6 separate regions of the Homo sapiens genome follow, and regions 2, 3, 4, 5 and 6 are each linked to region 1. The links are contacts of gene promoters, found by promoter capture Hi-C in blood cells and fetal thymus (Javierre and others, 2016). All regions are on one chromosome and are shown on one strand. Each heading gives the region's core, a stretch centred on a gene start or on the middle of the fragment in contact. The rest is flanking DNA. Distances are from core to core; before and after follow the strand shown.

Region 1 (3,137 bases), core at 464-2,963:
ACCTTGATTCCTCAAAAAAGGTTATGTTAAGTACACTCTGAATCTTAAGAGAGGGCTATATACTTCTTATAGGCTATACACTAATAATATGAAGACACATTTAAATGGTCACAATAATTTAGCTGTTCAGGGGATAATGTCAGTTAGATGAACAATTCAGTTAAACCTCTAACGATAGCATACAAATGCTAAGCAGATAAATCTCAAAAATCCCATTATAATTATGTAGTACAGATAATTAACATTTATGAGGCTGATTTGGGGAGAGAGGGGGGAAACCTAAGTTATACACTAAAATTCTTCCCCCTCCCTGAACATGCAATAAGGCGTTTCACCTTTTAAAAATGTATTCCCGTCACTAGTATTAGTTGCCTTTCTCCTTCTAATACCAAAATGAAAAAGAAGAAAAGTATCTTAATAATTTTCCCCACTGTCACGCTAACCCCTGCATCCAGAGGCCACTAACACAGCTGGTCTAAGTCTATTCCCTTCTTACAAAATAGCGCTTTCAAACCGATTGTTAATCTCAGAGAGAAGGGTTGTGCCTAAGACTTACGGCTGAATAAAAGCAGCACATAAATTAGTGGTTATGTGTAATCCATCTTCTTAGTTTAAAGGGAGAAACAACTATAACCTAAAACTCTACAAGATTTAGAGAGCAAAGAGCCCTTTACATTTTGTTCTTATAACAACAACAGAAATCTAACGCAGGTACACATATGAATCAGAAAACGTCATTCTCCAAGTCTTTATAACCAAAGGGAAAATAAAATACCATTACCCTGTCAAGAGCTCCGTAAACTTATTTTAAACATCATATAATGGATTTATCTGACTTGTTCATACTAAGTTTATTCCAGTAATAGCAGTGACTTGCAATGATCTAGAGAAAGCGGGTCAAAAGGCACATGGTATACGTCCTAAAAAAGGGTGGGGGGCGGACGTCAAGAAAGATCTAATCTTAAATATCTTACTTGGAAGAGTCGACTCCCTGCTCACACCACCCCCGATGGCTTCCCCCGAGTCGTTTCTTAAAGAGAAAAAAAGACAGGGATCCGGGCCCTTCGGGGCGGTGGGAGAAGAAGTCCCCACTGCACCCTGAACCCTTCGGGAGGGAACTTGGCACTGACGGCCAGGCACCTGACCAGGTGCAGCAGAAAACGCCGGGTCCGGGTGGCTGCTCTCGGAGGCTGCCGCCCGGCTCTGTCTACACCCCTCCGAGCCCTCCTAGGGTGGGCGCAGCCCGGCCCCAGCCTCCCTCCGCCCCGAGCCGCCGCCCAGCCGAAGGCCGTTTCCCGCGGGTCCCAGAGGAAGGCCCGGCCCGCCAGGCACCTTTGATGACGCGGTCGGTGGTGGAGAGGTGGAAGCGCCTCCCGGACATGGTCCCCTCGGCCTCCTCCAGGCTCCAGGAGCCCGCCGGACGTGCGCCTACGCCGCGGCCGCCGCCTTCTCCTCGGGCAGCCTTAGCTGCCCGGAGCCGTCAGCCAGCCGTGCCCGGCCCCGGCTCCTCAGCGGTGTCCGAGCACCAGAAGGGCGCGGCCACCGCAGCGCCGGCCTCCGACGCCACTGACAGGACGAGGGCCCACCGGCCGCTCTCTTGGGAGGCGCCAGCGGCTAAGGCGGGGAACACCGCTTCGGCACCGACCGCGACCGCTGCTAAGGGTGGCGACCGGGACGGCCGCGGCTGCTCGCGGCCCGGGCCCTCGTGCACGCAAGCGCGCCCCCGAGCGCCGCTCTCACAACTTCCCAGCGGCCCCGCTGTCCTAGCGGACCCGGCCGGGCCTCCCGCCCCGAGCGCCGCCCTCCCCACCCTTCCGCCTTCCCGCGAGGCAGTAGAGCTCGGCGCACGCGCTGCTCTCGGCTCCTCCGGCTCCGGGTCCCTGCTGCTAACCGCCCATTTTCGCTTCTTCTCAGCCAGCCCTCCCCGCAGCCGGCCCCTTCTCTCCTGCCAGCCCCTACCCGGGCCCGGAACATCTGAAACCCGCCCGCGTGGCCCGCGCGACCCGCGCGGGAGGCCGGCCCGGCCATCTTGCGACCCGGCCCTGCGGCCTCGCAGCGGCTCCGCGCCGCCTCCTGGGACCGCCTCGCCGAGAACCCCTGGCCTCCCAGTCCTCGCCCACAGGCGACCACCCTCCTCACCTCTGGGTCTCCCACCCGCTTTGTCTCAAGGAGTGTGATCAGTCCGGCCGCGCTCCTTCAGTTTTTGTGGGTCATTCAACAAACGCACACATTTAAACCCCCTCGCTTCATCTTTCCCGCTTGTTGAGTGCAGTTAGTACAATGAGAAGGACATTCGTGTCCATCCTAGTTCCAGTCCAGTAGCTAGGGCGGTGGGGGATTGGGGGAGCTCCGTTTCTGAGCAAGGCTCTGCTCCCTCCTCACTTTCCACATCGAAGAGAAGGGAGATCTCTGCTCCTGGGACCCCCGGGCCGGACCTCCTCGGCCACAAGAACTGACCTCTTCCTATGCCCTGTGTGTCACCTGCCCAGCTAGAAGCCCCTTTTTTCTTCCCCCTGACACAGTACCTGCCTCCCCGGCCCAGGCTCACTGTGGAACCCCATGGGCAAGTCCGTAGAAACTTAACAGTCTGTTCATCTCGAGGTTAAAAACTAACCTTTATCTGTCCTTAAAACTGTAAGCCTAGAACAGAAACTGGCTCCAACTGTCCTCTCACTGAGTAACTGGCAAAGTCAAAAGGATTTTGACTTTTAGCAATGCAAATGAAATATTGAAACTGATGTCCAATAAAACATATGCAAGTTACAGGCAAAACCAGTCTTAACAATTACCGCAGTGACCGATAAGTAGTTGTAGCTATGTAAATTTAAATTAATCCCGTTCCTCTAGGGGACTAGCCACATTTCAAGTGTTCAAGAGCTACACGCGGCTACCTTATTGGACATCCAGAAAATTCTACTGGACAGCTGTTAGGTAAAAGATTATAGGATTAAGCGTAAATCTCCAATAATATGGATTTATGTATAGGCGGTCTGGGGATATATAGTGGAATCAGACCCTGAATTATCCCTTGGAATTTTGACCATAGCTCTTTGATGGTAACCGCAGGAGGCAAAAGGACTTTAGGAGCCGACTAGAATTTGGTTTTCGTTTTCATGATCCTTGAGTCTTCCACCCAA
Region 2 (3,137 bases), core at 301-2,800, 780 kb before region 1:
ATTAGGACAATGTGGTAATTAGCATGAGAATAGCCAAATAAATAAACGGAACAGAATAGAGTCCGGAAATGGACACATACATATATATGGTCAATTTAATTTCAACAAAAGTGATAAGGCTATTGGATAAGGAAAAAAAGTCTTTTTTTTTTTTTTTTTTGAGACGGAGTTTCCCTCTTGTGGCCCAGGCTGGAGCGCAATGGCTCCATCTCGGCTCCCCGCAGCCTCTGCCTCCCGGGTTCAAGCGATTCTCCTGCCTCAGTCTCCCGAGTGGCTGGGATTACAGGCATCCGCCACCACGCCCCGCTAATTTTGTATTTTTAGTAGAGGCTGCGTTTCTCCATGTCGGTCAGGCTGGTCTCGAACTCCTGACCTCAGGTGATCCGCCCGCCTCGGCCTCCCAAAGTGCTGGGATTACAGGCGTGAGCCACCGCGCCCGGTCGAAAAGAGTCTTTTCAACAAATGGTACCGGAACACCATTAAAATATGGAGAAAAATGAACATCAATCAGCGCCCCCTTTCTCTTACCCACTCCTCAGCCCCAAGGTCGCCCTGGGAGTTCTTCGCAGGCAGGACCGTGACTCGCGTGGCTTTCGGGAGGCTGATTACCCACGCCCCATGCCCGTGCAGCGCTGGGTGCAGAGGAACCGCTGGAAGGACCTGTCCCCCGTGGGACCCCCACCAAGTCTCATCCCGTGTCATGTGCCAGATAGTCTCCCGTGGTTTAAGGACTTTCAAGACTCTTAACAGGTTAGGAAAATCCAGAAGAAAGGCAGAATTGGGTCCCTCGGGCTTGCCTGACACCAGGGACGGTGGAGTTGAGGTGACATTTCACTGGCATGGAGACCTGAAACCAAAAGCAGGATGAGCCGGGCACGGTGGCTCACGCTTGTAATCCCAGCACTTTGTAAGGCCGAAGCGGGCGGATCACGAGATCAGGAGCTCGAGACCAGCCTGGCCAAAACAGTGAAACCCCCGTCTCTACTAAAAATAGAAAAAAAATTAGCCGGACGTGGTGGCGGGCACCTGTAATCCCAGTTACTCAGGAGGCTGAGGCAGGAAAATCGCTTGAACCTGGGAGGCGGAGGTTGCAGTGAGCCGAGATCGTGCCACTGCACTCCAGCCTGGGCGACAGAGCTTGACTCCATCTCAAAAAAAAAAAAAAAAAAAAAAGGCAGGCTGAATCACTCGCCCGGTAGTGACGGAGGAGGCCGTAAAAGCCTCTTAGAGGCCAGACCCCGCAGTGGCCTCTGTGTCCTTCATTCCGCCACCCATCCGTCCACCGAGCGCCTGCTGGGTGCCAGGAACTGGGTCACAGAAAGGCTGAGGTCAACTCCCGACCGAGAAGCCTGGCGCTGGGACCAAGTGGCAAAACGACTCCGAATGCAGCGGCATCCACGCGGCGGCCGTGGTTGAGGAACAGAAGCTGAGAGCGGCAAGGGCGGTCACAGAGGAAGGAAGTTCAGGGTTAGCCAACAGGAGCCGCAGGTGCCCCGAAAAGGGGGCGGGGTCAGGGGTGCCCTGAACTCCGAATGCGAAGTTCTGTCTTGTCATAGCCAAGCACGCTGCTTCTTGGATTGACCTGGCAGGATGGCGCCACCACCAGCTAGAGTACATCTAGGTGCGTTCCTGGCAGTGACTCCGAATCCCGGGAGCGCAGCGAGTGGGACAGAGGCAGCCGCGGCCACACCCAGCAAAGTGTGGGGCTCTTCCGCGGGGAGGATTGAACCACGAGGCGGGGGCCGAGGAGCGCTCCCTACCTCCATGGGACAGCACGGACCCAGTGCCCGGGCCCGGGCAGGGCGCGCCCCAGGACCCAGGCCGGCGCGGGAAGCCAGCCCTCGGCTCCGGGTCCACAAGACCTTCAAGTTTGTCGTCGTCGGGGTCCTGCTGCAGGTGAGTCCCCACCGCGGTCCTGCCTGGGGAAAAGCGCGCCTGGCACCGGGAGGGGGCAGAGAGAGAGGGGGACGCGGCGGGGGTGCCTGGCCCGGGTCACTTGTGGCGGGGCATGTCCGGGCAGGAGGAGCCCGTCGTCGGAGTCGGAGGAAGAACGGGGTCCCCGGGGCCAGGCAGGAGCGACCCGGGCCTGGAGGCAGCAGAGCCCCCTCCCGCAGGAGGCTGGGCCCGGGGACTCCACCCCGTTGGCTGCTGCCTGGCGCGTCTCCCTCCTGCCCACACCTCACGATGTATCGGGAAGTTTCGGAATCGATAGAGCTCAAGTGTGTAAACTTCCAAGCCAACTCCCAGCCACACCAGCTGCGTGAAGGGGAGCGCCATTCTCCCCACTCCCTGATTCCCTCCCCACCCCCGTCCTTCTTTTCTTCTCTTCTTTTTTTTTTTTTTTTTTTTTTTGAAACGGAGTCTCTCTCTGTCGCCCAGGCTGGAGTGTAGTGGCGCGATCTCGGCTCACTGCAAGCTCCGCCTTCCTGGTTCAAGCGATTCTCCTGCCTCAGCCTCCCGAGTAGCTGGGAGTACAGGCTCCTGCCACCACGCCCGGCTAATTTTTTGTATTTTTAGTAGTCACGGGGTTTCACTGTGTTAGCCAAATCCGCCCGCCTCGGCCTCCCAAAGTGCTGGGATTACAGGCGTGAGCCACCGCGCCCGGCCCTCCATCCTTCTTTTCTTAGACAAATTGGTTAAACACGCAGCCCGGCAGGAAAAAGTAACTTTCTCTCCTCTGCTCGTTGTCTTCCGTTTCGAGTCCACTGAGCACACCGGCAGCAGTTTCCTTCCAGCCACTTTCTTGCGCATCAACAGGTACAGGGCAGCGAATTGACCACCACGAGGCAGGCAGCCAGGAGCGGGGCACGCCCTTCCTTCAGGAGGCAGCGTTTCCTGTGAAAGCAATCACTCAGTCTGGAAAAATGCCAATGCCTTCAGTTCTCTTTCAAGTTCATTAAGGCTCTACCAATTGTTCTCATCCAGATTCCTTCTATGTTAAGGAAAAACAAAACGAAAGCTAAGTACCTGAAGGATAAACCAGTCTTACAAGTGTCAGGAAATTTTACGTGTTTTTGTTTAACAAACTAAACAAAATCCAGGAATCCAATAGCATTTTGAAATCTCCAAATAATTACAGAATTTATGTTTTAAACGTCAGTTTATGTTAGGTGGAACCCACGTTTGACTCTTATTTT
Region 3 (3,137 bases), core at 433-2,932, 720 kb before region 1:
CACACATTTCTGAGTCTAGCTCAGTGCCTGGAACCTGGCACACATTTCTGACCCTAGCTCAGTGCCTGGAACCTGGCGCACATTTCTGACCCTAGCTCAGTGCCTGGGGCCTGACACACATTTCTGACCCTAGCTCAGTGCCTGGGGCCTGACACACATTTCTGAGTCTAGCTCAGTGCCTGAAACCTGGCGCACATTTCTGACCCTAGCTCAGTGCCTGGGACCTGGCACACATTTTTTTTTCTTTTTTTTTTTTTTCACAGAGTCTCGCTCTGTCACCCAGACTGGAGTGCAGTGGCACGAATCTCGGCTCACTGCAACCTCCATTTCCTGGGTTCAAGCAATTCTCCTGCCTCAGCTTCCTGAGTAGCTGGGATTACAAGTGCCCGCCACCACGCCCAGCTAATTTTTGTATTTTTAGTAGAGATGGGGTTTAACTATGTTGGCCAGGCTGGTCTCGAACTCCTGACCTCTTGATTCGCCCACCTCAGCCTCTCAAAGTGCTGGGACTACAAGCGTGAGCAACCGCGCCCGGCCCTGGCTCACATTTCTGACCCTAGGTCATTGTCTGGGCCCTGGAAGGTGCTCAGGGTGATCCATCGCTCAAATCCAAGCCTGTGGAGAGGATGACATTTCATTCCCAGGTTTCTCATGAGCCAAAAAACCTTCATTTCTATAGCGCTATCCTCTTCTATCTACCATGTGAGGGGTCAGGAGCCGACTCATCCCAAGGGTCTAGGAGTCCTGCCATTGACCTTACTGCTTAGGGTCACAAGCTGGCACCCTTCAAAACCACACATTGGGTCTGCCCTCACAGCGGCAGTGTGTTCAACTGGATGGGGAGGTAAGTAGCCCAAGGTCAGACAGTTGGACCTGGGTAGACAATAGACTTGGGGACAGACTTTGGAAGGCACTCCCCTGATTCCCCTGTCTCCATGGGGCCTCAATACTAGAGCCCTCAAGGTTGGTCAGGGAGTGTTTGTGCTTTGACCATGCAAAGGGTGCCAGGTTGTGGCTAGGGATGCCCCCGGCGTTCCTCTCCCTCCTACCTACTCCTCAGCCTCTGCAGGTGCCTGTCATGGCCTCTGTGTCCTTCATTCTGTCCACTCATGTGTTCACTGGGCCCCTCCTTGGTGCCAGGCACCCGCTACTGAGGGATACCAAGCCCCTGCCAGAGAAGCTTGGAGCTGGGTCACAGCAGCAAGGAGGCTGGAGACATCAGTGGCATCAGTGCACTGGTCAGTGAGGCCGCTGTGGGAGGAGGGAGTGGGAGCAGAAGCTAAGAGTGGACTGAAGTCCTGAGGCCAGGAAGTAGTTCAGGGTTTAAGAAGAGGAGAGACAGGCGGCCCGGGGAGGGAGCAGGCTCAGGATGGGCCTCCAGTGCCTCCTCTGGAGCTCACTACCCAGACTACAGCAGCGCAGCGGGCAGCGCCTCAGCTCCTTCCCCTTCTGCTGCCTACAGCCTGGACAGGACCCGGAATCAAACCGCAGGCCCTGGGTCACCGCTGCCGGAAAGAGCCAGTTCCTGTCCGTCCATGCACCCACCCACACAACCTGGGCCCTCCTGGAGGTGCTGGGGGAGACCCAGCCTGAGTGCCTGGAAGTGACTGCGGGAAGGGAGTACAACTGACCACGCCTTTTTTCCGGGGTATAAAAGCGGAGGAGCACGTTCTATTCTGGCAGTGTAGCTGCGAGAACCTTTGCACGCGCACAAACTACGGGGACGATTTCTGATTGATTTTTGGCGCTTTCGATCCACCCTCCTCCCTTCTCATGGGACTTTGGGGACAAAGCGTCCCGACCGCCTCGAGCGCTCGAGCAGGGCGCTATCCAGGAGCCAGGACAGCGTCGGGAACCAGACCATGGCTCCTGGACCCCAAGATCCTTAAGTTCGTCGTCTTCATCGTCGCGGTTCTGCTGCCGGTGAGTCTCCGCCGCGGTCCCTGGCTGGGGAAGAGCGCACCTGGCGCCGGGAGTGGGCAGGGAGAGAGGGGGACACGGTGGGGATGCTTGGCCCGGGTCGCCTGCGGCCGGGCATGTCTGGGCAGGACGAACCCGCCGTCGGAGTCAGGGGAAGAGTGGGGTGCCCGGGCTGGGCAGGAGCGACCGGGCCGCGAGGGAGCAGAGCGCGCGCTCCCCCTGGCTGTCCCGTGCGGCGAGGACCGCACTGAGCTGCCCCAGAGGAAGTTCCAGAATCAGCGGAGGGAGGGAGTCAAGATGGAAACCCCGGAGTGAACCTCAGGAAGCCACAGAGCGGTTGCCTCTTTCGTTCGTTCGTTCGTTCGTTCGTTCATAACGTTAACCCAGGCCGGTCGCGGTGGCTCACGCCTGTAATCCCAGCACGTTGGGAGGCCGAGGCGGGCGGATCACCTGAGGTCAGGAGTTGGAGACCAGCCTAGCCACCATGGTGAAACCCCGTCTCTACTAAAAATACAAAAATTAGCCGGACGTGATGGCGGTCGCCTGTAATCCCAGCTACTCGGGAGGCTGAGGCAGAAGGAGAATCACTTGAATCCGGGAGGCGGAGGTTGCAGTGAGCCGAGATCGCGCCATCGCACTCCAGCCTGGTCAACAAGAGCGAGACTCCGTCTCAAAAAAAAAAAAAAAAAAAAAAAAAAAGTTAGCCAGGCGTGGCAGCCTGCGCCTGTAGTCCCAGCTACTCAGGAGGCTGAGGCAGGAGAACTGCTTGAACCCGGGAGGCAGAGGTTGCAGTGAGCCGAGATTGCACCACTGCACTCCAGCCTGGGCGACAGAGCGAGACTCTGCCTTAACAAAAACAGACAAACAAACAAACAAAATTAACCCTATGTTTACACTGTTACACGTGTTTCTTGGAGATCAGTTTAACAAACAGCCTGTGAAAAAGCTTTCCAACGCTGTTTTTTGTAACTTTCATTTCCTATAGAACCCTGAAAGTGGCAGGAAGCGGTTAACCAAGGTGCTTGCAGTCAGTGTCTTCCACTGCCACCCGTGTGTCCCCTCTGTATCCCATAGGCAGGACCGCGGGATGGCCCCTTCCTTAGGCATAAAAGATGTAAAGTTCTCGTTGTGAGTTGGGTTTGGAAACTGAGATTGGTAGTGGGGTGCACAAGAAGGACATAAAAATAAGATGTGCAGACTGCCAGGACTTTTTCTGA
Region 4 (3,137 bases), core at 229-2,728, 630 kb before region 1:
TGTCCACACTCTGTATCTAGCTAATCTGGTGGGGAAGTGGAGAACATTTGTGTCTAGCTCAGGGATTGTAAACCACCAATCAGCGCCCTGTCAAAACAGACCACTCCGCTCTACCAATCAGCAGGGTGTGGGTGGGGCCAGATAAGAGAATAAAAGCAGGCTGCCAGAGCCAGCAGTGGTAACACTGTGGAAGCTTCCTTCTTTCCCTCTGCAATAAATCTTGCTACTGCTCACTCTTTGGGTCCACACTGCCTTTATGAGCTGTAACACTCACCTTGAAGGTCTGCAGCTTCACTCTTGAAGCCAGCGAGACCACGAGCCCACCAGGAGGAAAGAACAACTCCAGACCCACTGCCTTAAGAGCTGTAACACTCACTGGGAAGGTCTGCAGCTTCACTCCTGAGCCAGTGAGACCACGAACCCACCAGAAGGAAGAAACTCCGAACACATCCGAACATCAGAAGGAACAAACTCCAGACACGCCGCCTTTAAGAACTGTAACACTCACCGCGAGGGTCCGAGGCTTCATTCTTGAAGGCAGTGAGACCAAGAACCCACCAATTCCGGACACAGTACCATGAAGGAATGAAAATACATAACAATGTGATGTATCATGTTTTATTTCCTAGACTAGTGACAAATGAAAGCTAAGTGTAGCAAGGGTGCAGGGACACAGGCACATTTGTGGACTAGGTGTGAGTGTAAGCTGGGTTCGATGGTCTTTTGGCCAACATAGTGAACCCCTGTGTCTACTAAAAATACAAAAATTAGCCAGGCGTGGTGGTGCAGGCCTGTAGTCCCAGCTACATGGGAGGCTGAGGTGGGAGTATCGCTTGAACCTGGGAGACGGAAGTTGCAGTGAGCCGGGATCACACCACCGCTCACCAATCTGAGCCACAGAGAGACTGTCTCAAAAAATAAACCACAAGGAAGGGAGGTAGGGGGAGGGGGAGGGAGGGAGGAAAGAGAAAGAGAGAAAGGAAGGAAAGAGAAAGCAGGAAGGACGGAAAGAAGACGAAAGAACGAAAGAAAACGAAAGAAAAAAGGAAAGAAGAGAGAAGGAGAGAACAGAAGGGGCAGGTGCCCCTGGGAAGGGGAGAAGATCAAGACGCGCCTGGAAAGCGGACTCTGAACCTCAAGACCCTGTTCACAGCCAAGCGCGCGACCCCGGGAGGCGTCAACTCCCCAAGTGCCTCCCTCAACTCATTTCCCCCAAGTTTCGGTGCCTGTCCTGGCGCGGACAGGACCCAGAAACAAACCACAGCCCGGGGCGCAGCCGCCAGGGCGAAGGTTAGTTCCGGTCCCTTCCCCTCCCCTCCCCACTTGGACGCGCTTGCGGAGGATTGCGTTGACGAGACTCTTATTTATTGTCACCAACCTGTGGTGGAATTTGCAGTTGCACATTGGATCTGATTCGCCCCGCCCCGAATGACGCCTGCCCGGAGGCAGTGAAAGTACAGCCGCGCCGCCCCAAGTCAGCCTGGACACATAAATCAGCACGCGGCCGGAGAACCCCGCAATCTCTGCGCCCACAAAATACACCGACGATGCCCGATCTACTTTAAGGGCTGAAACCCACGGGCCTGAGAGACTATAAGAGCGTTCCCTACCGCCATGGAACAACGGGGACAGAACGCCCCGGCCGCTTCGGGGGCCCGGAAAAGGCACGGCCCAGGACCCAGGGAGGCGCGGGGAGCCAGGCCTGGGCCCCGGGTCCCCAAGACCCTTGTGCTCGTTGTCGCCGCGGTCCTGCTGTTGGTGAGTCCCCGCCGCGGTCCCTGGCTGGGGAAGAGCGTGCCTGGCGCCTGGAGAGGGCAGGGAGAGAGGGGGACACGGCGGGGGTGCGTGGCCCGGGTCGCCTGCGGCCGGGCATGTCCGGGCAAGACGCACCAGTCGTCGGAGTCGGGGGAAGAGATGGGTCCCCGGGTTGGGCAGGAGCGACCTGGGCCGCCAGGGAACAGAGCGCGCGCTCCACTTGGTGTAAATTCCCGAATCCAGTGGGGGAGGGCGACAAGGAGGGAATTCCCGAGTAAGCTGCGTGAAGCCACGGAGAGGTCGTCGGACTTTGATTTTGTTTTCTTTCCTTACTTTCTGTTTCTTTCTCTTTTTCTCTTTCTTCCTTTCTTTCCCTCCCTTCCTTCCTCGCTCAGTTCCTGCCTTAATTTCTTTTTCTTTTGCGCCTTCGAATGAATTCCTAAAGGCGCTCATTGCAGATCGCTTTGAACCTGCGGCCGGCGAAGAACTCCCCTGTGGTCGCTGCGGCCCAGTGGTTCCGTTCCGTGCGCGGGAGTCGTCGCGGGCGCAGCTGGAGAGGCCCCTTCCCCTCCTTAGCGGCTGCGCCCCTACGCGTGCGGGGCCGCTCATCGCCAATGCCATTGTTTGGGGTTCCTTGGGAAAACGAGATTTAGGAGAAGGGAGTTGTGGCACTTGGGGCCTGACCTGCTTGATAATAGCAGCTGCATTTTGGCCTGGGAAGAGCCTTTCTTGCCACCTCTTGGCAAGTATCCGTGATAATGGGGAAGGGACAAAGAGTCGGCTTTGTAGGGAACAGCATGGTGTGCTCAGCGCCTGGAACTGCGCTTGGGGCCAGGAGAGGTTCTGAATCATCACATTTTACAGAGGAAGAGACCGCAGCTCAGAGTGGGGAAGTGTGTGGGCCTAGACCTAACTCAAGACTGTACAGAGGGGCTGGAAGGGAGAGGAGGAACAGTGAAAGGAAGGTCAAGAGAATGCTGGTGTTGACCTAGAAGAATGTCAGTGTGAAGCATTGGAGTTTCATGGGATATTGTTACACACCTCATGTTTTCACTGTTTCCGCCCCACACCACAGTATGTCCTTGGTCTCACCTCTGAGTGGAGGGAGGACCTAACTGTCCTAGTGAGGAGAGTGTACAGGGGCCTCTGCCTCCCCCTCCTGCTGTGGTTTCTGTGGGCCTAGGTCCCCAGGGCATCTTGCCTCTCTTTGGGTGGTGGATCTTTGGTCTCTGGCTGCTTTTAAAGATTTTTCTTAGCACTGGTTTGCAGTGATTTGGTTTGTTTGCTCTGTTGTGGGGTTTTTTTTTTATCTCTATAAAGAATTTTTTGGATTTTTGGCTTTAGACTTTCATGTTCTTTCTACTTGGAAGATTTTTCTGTAA
Region 5 (3,031 bases), core at 1-2,500, 570 kb before region 1:
GAATGTTGGCCACCATCATGCGCAGATCAAAGACCTCGAGCAGCTCAGCAATGTGGGCAATGTGCATGAGGTCACGCTCGTTCTCATCTAGCTCCCCCGTGTACAGGTACTTGAGGACAGCCCGGAAGGGCCCCGGCTGGATGGAACTGTCCATCTTCACCACCACCATCAGCCGGGATTTGTAGGTGAGAGGATCTTCTGCCATCTCTTCCTGGATGCTCACAAAAGCTCGGCTCCAGGAAGACAGCACACGACCCCTGCCCGGTAGGTACCCTGTTCCGTTGCCCCGTAAGATCCCGTCGCTGGTGGAAGCACGGAGGCCAGCAGGACCGGAGCCCCCAGCCTCATCCACGCTCTCGCACACGTCAAAGCTGGCTGCTCGGAGCAGGAAGTCTCGCCCATGGTGGTGGTGGTGATGGTGGTGGTGTTGATCAGAGTGGCCCTGGTGGTCCTCTGGGTGGGTGCCCCCTGGCTCCGAGGGGCCCCCCAGCTCCCCCTCACTCAGGTCCATGAGGAACAGGTCATAGAACTTGGAGGAAGAGGTGGAGAGGTAGATCTTGTGGGCAAAGATGCGCACCCGCTCCTGCAGCACCAGGATGACGTCCGCGCAGAGCGGGTCCTCCAGGAGGTGGGCGGGGCACTCCTCGCTGCTGGAGGGAGGGTCGGGCACCACGATGATCGGGGGCGGTGGCTTGGGGGGTAGGAAGGGTGCCTGCAGCAGAGGCCGCTGCACATTGCGGAGGTGGGACTTCCAGAACTGCAGGTGGCGGCGGGAGATGAGTGCAGCTCGGATGGCGTTGTCAAAGACGTCCTTGATGCCGAACTGGGCCACCACGCTGGTCTCATAGTAGGGGATGCCCAGCTCCTTGGCCACCTCCCGACCCTTCTCTGGGGGCAGGATTTCATTAGGTTTGATGGGCCTGGTAGGTTCAAGAAGGAAACCAAGCTTGTGTTGGTGGTGGAGGGAGGCTGCCTGTTCTTCCACAGGCTGGAGGGACTCTGCTCAGGATCTGGGTGCCAATCCCCACCCACTCCTGCCCTGCTCTGTCTGGCCAAATCCCATCAAGCTCCTTCAAGGTCCACTCCAAGCCCTTTTTCTTCCAGAAAGCTTTCCCTACTATGCCAGGCCCCAGTGACCTCCCCAGTACAAAGCCGTGACAGCACTGCCTCTCTGGCAATTAGCAGGCAATGCTTCACATGGGTATTTAACATGCTCACATATTTAGTTTATCCCTCAGCAAAATTATAGGACTTTTTCATGCAAATATCACCTCTTCCTCTCTATTTTTCTTCATGATGCTTTACATAGCACTGCCCACACCAGAGGTGTGCAACAGGTATATGAATGAATGAATGAATGAGCATGCTTGTTGACTCCCAATGCAAGCTTGCTCCAAATGGAGGGAGAGATATGAGGCTCAGTGGAATTCCCCCAGGGCTGAGCAGGGAGCCATGGTGAGGCACCCATCCATGTCTGTCTCCTTGGTACCAGCACCTCCTACCTAGCCAAGGGTCGCCTAGCCCTGTTGACAGCCTCCAGGTCAGCGTAGCGCAGGTCCAACTGGCAGCCCACCAAGATGACAGGTGCTCGGGGGCAGAAGTGCTTGATTTCTGGGTACCACATGGTCTTGACATGGTGGAGGGAATTGGGGTTGGCAATGGAGAAGCACAGAACCACCACATCAGATCTGCGGGTGGGAAAGTAAGGTTACGGGCAGAGAAACAAGTGGTAGCTTACCTGGTCCTGGAACATCTGCCCCACCCCAGCCCTGTACAGTCCCACACCTGGCTTAGGTATCTGCTCACGTGCTCTTGACACAAAACATATAATCACAATACCTCCAATTTATGTGCCACTTTAGAGCTCAAGACTTGTTTTGGCCTCACAGCTATTTTGTGAGTTAGAAATGGCTGTTTTCACCACTTCACAGCTGAGAAACATCATCTCAGAGCTACTAGGCACAGAGCTGGAACTCAATCCAGGCTTCCTGATCCCGGACCCAGGCTCCCTTCACTGCACCAGGCTGCCCCAGCCCCCATGAGGCTCTGCCAGAGCTGTTTTCTCCACTTCTTCTTGCCAGCTGAAATTTCACAGAGGTGCTTTGTTCCTGGGAAAAGCAGGGAAAAACCCACCCTGTTGGTTCTCTGCAGGCGGCTAGAGGCCTTCCCTACCTCCCATAAGCAAAGCGACGGTCTTTGTGGTGGTCTCCAAAGGTGTCCCAGAGGCGCAGAGAGACGCTGACATCATCTACCACGTCTCGGGAGCGTTCCAGCACCTGGGGACGGGGAGGAAGAGTGGGACTCGAAGGCAGCAGTTTTGGGGACCTCTGCGTGCCACCTCAGGATAAGCGCCGGCTGACACCTGGGGGCCCCAGACATCACTGGGCATGGAGGGACAAGGCTGGCATCGCCCACTGTGCACCCTGCACAACTTTCATCCACGTAAAATCTCTGTAGAATCTATAACAAGGGTGGCCTCCAAGCTGACCAGGAGTGGAAGAGACCCTAAGCAGGTGGAAGAGACACTAAGAGGGTAGCAGAGACCCTAAGGGGGTGGAAGAGACCCTAAGGGACTGCTATGGGTGTGGAAGGGGCCTCTTTGGGAGCTGACCCTTGTTCCTGGCTTTCCTTGCAAACTGCATGTTTGTGAGCCTCTGGTCTTTTGCTATCAGCTGCCAGCTTCTTTGCTCCTCTCAGCTTGTATCTCTTCCAAGCCCCAGCCCTCCAGTGCTCCCCATTACTTAAGGCTGTGACTACATACAATGCGGTACCCCAGACAAAGATGGAGTCCCAGGCACCAGCTCAGTCCCTGAAAACACAACCAGCCAGAGACACTTCCCTGGGGCAGACTTGGCTTAAACCTCTCTCCAGGGGCTCCTTCCTCTTCAGCTGCCCCCAACCCATCCTGTCCCACCCCTAGAGGGCTCCCGTGAGCTCTGGAGACACCAAGCTATGCCTCAGGAAGCCCCCAAGCCCAGACTCATGGCGTGGACCCCCAGCCAGGTAGTCCTGCAGCCTTACCTCCTGGCAC
Region 6 (3,137 bases), core at 282-2,781, 510 kb before region 1:
CTATTTGGGAAGCTGAGGTGGGAGGATCCTTTGAGCCTAGGAGGTCAAGGGTGCAATGAGCCATGATCATGCCACTGTACTCCAGCCTGGGTGACAGAGAGAGACCTTGTCTCAAAAAAAAAAAAAAAAAAAAAAAGATTTATTGAATGAATTGATGGATGGATGAGATCCTGGTTTCCACAATGGAAGCAGAATTGACCTCCACAGTGAGAATCTTCAAAGCAACTGCAATTGTTAAAGTCTGTACATTGGTCTAGAGTCCTGGAGGACATGGAGCCAGAGTGGGGATAAACTTGGCATTCGGTAAACCTCGGGGGCCACAGTTGTCCCAGTAGGTTCCTTTTAATGGTTTGGGATGCAAGTGCTCTTCCGAAAGGCGGTGCAGGGGCTACTGCAGTGCGGAGTCATTTGCACTCACAGTCTCTTCCTAGAGCTTCCCCGCTTTTGCTGGGTTGTTGATTTTTTTCTGATTTGATTTGCAGGAGCTCTTTATACATTCTGGGAAAGTGGATCCTTTACTGGCCATAGGCAATGCAATAGTTTTTATCTGGGGTATCTTTTCTTTTTTTTGAGACAGAGTCTCACTCTGTCACCCAGGCTGGAGTGCAGTGGTGCAATCTCGGCTTATTGCAACCTCTGCCTCCCTGGTTCAAGCAATTCTCGTGCCTCAGCCCCCCAAGTAGCTGGGACTACAGGCGTGCTCCACCATGCCCAGCTAATTTTTGTATTTTTAGTAAGACTGGGTTTCACCATGTTGGCTAGGCTGGTCTCAAACTCCTGACCTCAAGTGATCTGCCCACCTCGGCCTCCCAAAGTGTTGGGATTACAGGCGTGAGCCACCGCACCCAGCCATCTGGGGCATCTTGACGAAAGAAAAGGTTTTTGTTTTAGATATAGTCAAATCTATGGTTTCCTTGGTACAGTTTGTGGTTTTTTTTCTGTCATATTTCCTTCCCTACCTTAAGGTACTAAAGATATTCTCCTGCATATTATTCTAAAGATTTAAAAGTTTCCATTTTAATATTTCATTTTTTAATCCACCTGAAATTTGTTCTGTTTAAAGTATGGCATCACAACATGATTTTATTTTTTCACAGTGAATCCAATTGTCTCAACACTATTTGTTGGATAGTGTGTCCTTTTCCCTATTCACTTGAAATGTCACCACTGCCAAGGAAGCTTGTAATAAACAAAAAAGATTATTAAGTGTCTGCAATAGAAAACGATACATAGCTTAGAGCTCATTCTTCCAGGTTCTCTGATTCATTGAATTAAGCTATTTTACAACTTTATACATTGTAGATAACTAGCAGCCAATAGAGTGATTTTTGTCTATACATACGTTAAAAAACAAAAACAGAAACAAAAACAAAACAAAACAAAACAAAAAAAACCTGTCTGGTGGAGCTTCAACTGACATTCCCTTTCCTGCTGTGGAAGAAGCCAGTTAGTTTTGCTGCCATTTTCATGTTCATGTCAATATCTCTGATCTATCAATGTGTCCATTCCTTGGATTGCCCTTGTAAGATCTTACCAGTTCCCTCATTAATGGTGAGTTAAATAAAAAATCTACCATGTGTTCATTTTATGTCTGTGTGAGAGTGATGATTTTACCCTTTTTGAAACCACCCTTTAACAGTCACATATCGATGGCATATAGCTTGAAGCAAACACAAAGGGATCAATTAGATAGCGATTATTCACTTATATAAGCTCTTCCTACATGACAATAGGATACGATTTACAAGTGTTTAGACCATTTTATCAGCAGCCAAGCCCTGAGTACAAAGGCAGCCTTGTACATCTGGCAGTGCTCTGACAGGCCAGGAAAACAAACCAACCATTCACATTCTTCTATGTATCATCATATTACAGGAAGCTTTTCAACATCGTGAGGATTGCATAATCAACTCTGAACATCTGGAATAGGAGCCTGACTGAACAGAGCAGAAGTGAACTTTCCCGGAGCTCCCATACTCCATCCACTCAACTCAACAAATGTTGACTTAGTGCCTATGATGTACAGCACTCAGTGCTAAAATGCAGTAGGGAAATAAATAAGTCTCTTTGGTCTGATTGAAATTAATTTCCTCATTTCTAAAGGAGGAACTAACCACATGGGCCCTACACTGAGAGATATGTTATGGGTTACCATTGCAACGAAAATGCAGGTTCAGTCACTCATCGCTTGCAGAATGCAATGAACAAGAGCAAGGTCTGATATTGTCAGGCAGATATGAGCAGGGCAGGAGAGGGTCCCTCCCACCCCAACCCCACCCCAGGAATGTCAGGTGGTCATCAAGTGATGGTCAGACTGTGGTTAGTTGTCTCTCTAAAATAATAATTGGTAGGAGCCAGCACCAGGGAAAGGCAGTCTGTCAACACATAGAAACACCTGAAGCTGGTGATCAGCAACAATAAGATCTTAGGAGTTGGGAGAGTGGGCTCAAGCATGCGCACCATGGGGCAAAATGGCGGAGTGTAACTGGTACATGACGTTCCTCTAGGAACACTCAATTGGTAAGGGAAAAGTGCCTCAAATGAGCACGTGTATAACTCCAGTAAACACGCCGCACATGTGGTTCCTCCTAAGTGCTGGCAGGCCACTGCGCAGGTGGACAGCCCACCCCAGGGGAAAAATCAGGGGAGAAGGGATGCAATTCCCCAGAAGCATGCCAATGTATAAGACCCCAAGTCAAAGGCCATACCAAGCACTTGATCTCTCAAGTAGCCCACTTGGTGCTCTTCCAAGTGCACTTTACTTCCTTTTGTTCCCGCTTGAAACTTTTTTTTTTGAACAGGAGTTTCACTCTTGTTGCCCAGGCTGGAGTGCAATGGTGCAATCTCGGCTCACTGCAATCTCCGCCTCCCGAGTTCAAGCAATTCTCCTGCCTCAGCCTCCCATGTAGCTGGGATTGCAGGCATGCGCCACTATGCCCGGCTAATTTTTCATATTTAATAGAGATGGGCTTTCACCACATTGGTCAGGCTGGTCTGGAACTCCTGACCTCAGGTGATCCACCTGCCTTCGGCCTCCCAAAGTGCTGGGATTACAAGCATGAGCCACCACACCCGGCCTCAAAAGCTTTGGAATACACTTTCACTCCTGCTGTAAAACTTGCCTTCCTCTGTCACTC

What was found. Contacts are between HindIII fragments. The CHiCAGO score rates a contact against its expected background, and 5 or more counts as called.
Region 2: the fragment with the promoter of TNFRSF10A here is called in contact with the fragment with the promoter of PPP3CC in region 1 in 6 of 17 cell types (non-activated CD4 T cells, naive CD4 T cells, total CD8 T cells and 3 more); the score reaches 10.7 in non-activated CD4 T cells.
Region 3: a contact is called between the fragment with the promoter of TNFRSF10D here and the fragment with the promoter of PPP3CC in region 1, in 2 of 17 cell types (fetal thymus and naive CD8 T cells). The highest score is 9.0, in fetal thymus.
Region 4: a contact is called between the fragment with the promoter of TNFRSF10B here and the fragment with the promoter of PPP3CC in region 1, in 6 of 17 cell types (naive CD8 T cells, activated CD4 T cells, total CD4 T cells and 3 more). The highest score is 8.5, in naive CD8 T cells.
Region 5: a fragment that was not itself captured here is called in contact with the fragment with the promoter of PPP3CC in region 1 in 1 of 17 cell types (naive CD8 T cells); the score reaches 6.0 in naive CD8 T cells.
Region 6: a contact is called between a fragment that was not itself captured here and the fragment with the promoter of PPP3CC in region 1, in 1 of 17 cell types (endothelial precursors). The highest score is 5.4, in endothelial precursors.

What each region holds. Positions count from the first base shown.
Region 1 is chr8:22,439,654-22,442,790 of GRCh38, reverse strand. PPP3CC (protein phosphatase 3 catalytic subunit gamma) reads right to left here and starts at 1,713. Exons shown (of 14, transcript NM_005605.5): 1 at 1,333-1,713. The coding sequence starts at 1,381. RefSeq lists silencers at 1,191-1,850, 1,941-2,130. The HindIII fragment of the contact is 13,070 bases long and covers 1-3,137 here.
Region 2 is chr8:23,223,515-23,226,651 of GRCh38, reverse strand. It overlaps TNFRSF10A (TNF receptor superfamily member 10a), which reads left to right and starts at 1,550. Exons shown (of 10, transcript NM_003844.4): 1 at 1,550-1,896. The coding sequence starts at 1,591. TNFRSF10A-DT (TNFRSF10A divergent transcript) reads right to left here and starts at 1,431. Exons shown (of 3, transcript NR_033928.1): 1 at 529-1,431. RefSeq lists an enhancer at 1,158-1,297, silencers at 1,349-1,540, 1,708-1,957, promoters at 940-1,593, 1-1,593, 1,022-2,058 and a cis regulatory region at 1,979-2,058. The HindIII fragment of the contact is 5,488 bases long and covers 1-3,137 here.
Region 3 is chr8:23,162,572-23,165,708 of GRCh38, reverse strand. It overlaps TNFRSF10D (TNF receptor superfamily member 10d), which reads left to right and starts at 1,682. Exons shown (of 9, transcript NM_003840.5): 1 at 1,682-1,923. The coding sequence starts at 1,774. RefSeq lists an enhancer at 1,825-1,944. The HindIII fragment of the contact is 1,686 bases long and covers 1,183-2,868 here.
Region 4 is chr8:23,067,372-23,070,508 of GRCh38, reverse strand. TNFRSF10B (TNF receptor superfamily member 10b) reads left to right here and starts at 1,478. Exons shown (of 9, transcript NM_003842.5): 1 at 1,478-1,758. The coding sequence starts at 1,615. It also overlaps the pseudogene TNFRSF10B-AS1. RefSeq lists enhancers at 1-273, 1,055-1,224, 1,245-1,294, 1,835-2,094, a cis regulatory region at 1,488-1,493 and promoters at 948-1,618, 386-3,137. The HindIII fragment of the contact is 4,380 bases long and covers 196-3,137 here.
Region 5 is chr8:23,004,617-23,007,647 of GRCh38, reverse strand. RHOBTB2 (Rho related BTB domain containing 2) reads right to left here. Exons shown (of 10, transcript NM_015178.3): 2 at 3,022-3,031; 3 at 2,173-2,276; 4 at 1,503-1,688; 5 at 1-920. Among named protein-coding and RNA genes, the nearest start is that of RHOBTB2-AS1, 6.3 kb to the right of the region's middle. RefSeq lists an enhancer at 2,843-3,031. The HindIII fragment of the contact is 279 bases long and covers 1,111-1,389 here.
Region 6 is chr8:22,952,564-22,955,700 of GRCh38, reverse strand. It overlaps RHOBTB2-AS1 (RHOBTB2 antisense RNA 1), which reads left to right. Exons shown (of 2, transcript XR_007060857.1): 2 at 1,876-2,082. It also overlaps a transcript of RHOBTB2 not described here. Among named protein-coding and RNA genes, the nearest start is that of PEBP4, 26 kb to the right of the region's middle. RefSeq lists enhancers at 2,307-2,937, 2,938-3,137. The HindIII fragment of the contact is 700 bases long and covers 1,182-1,881 here.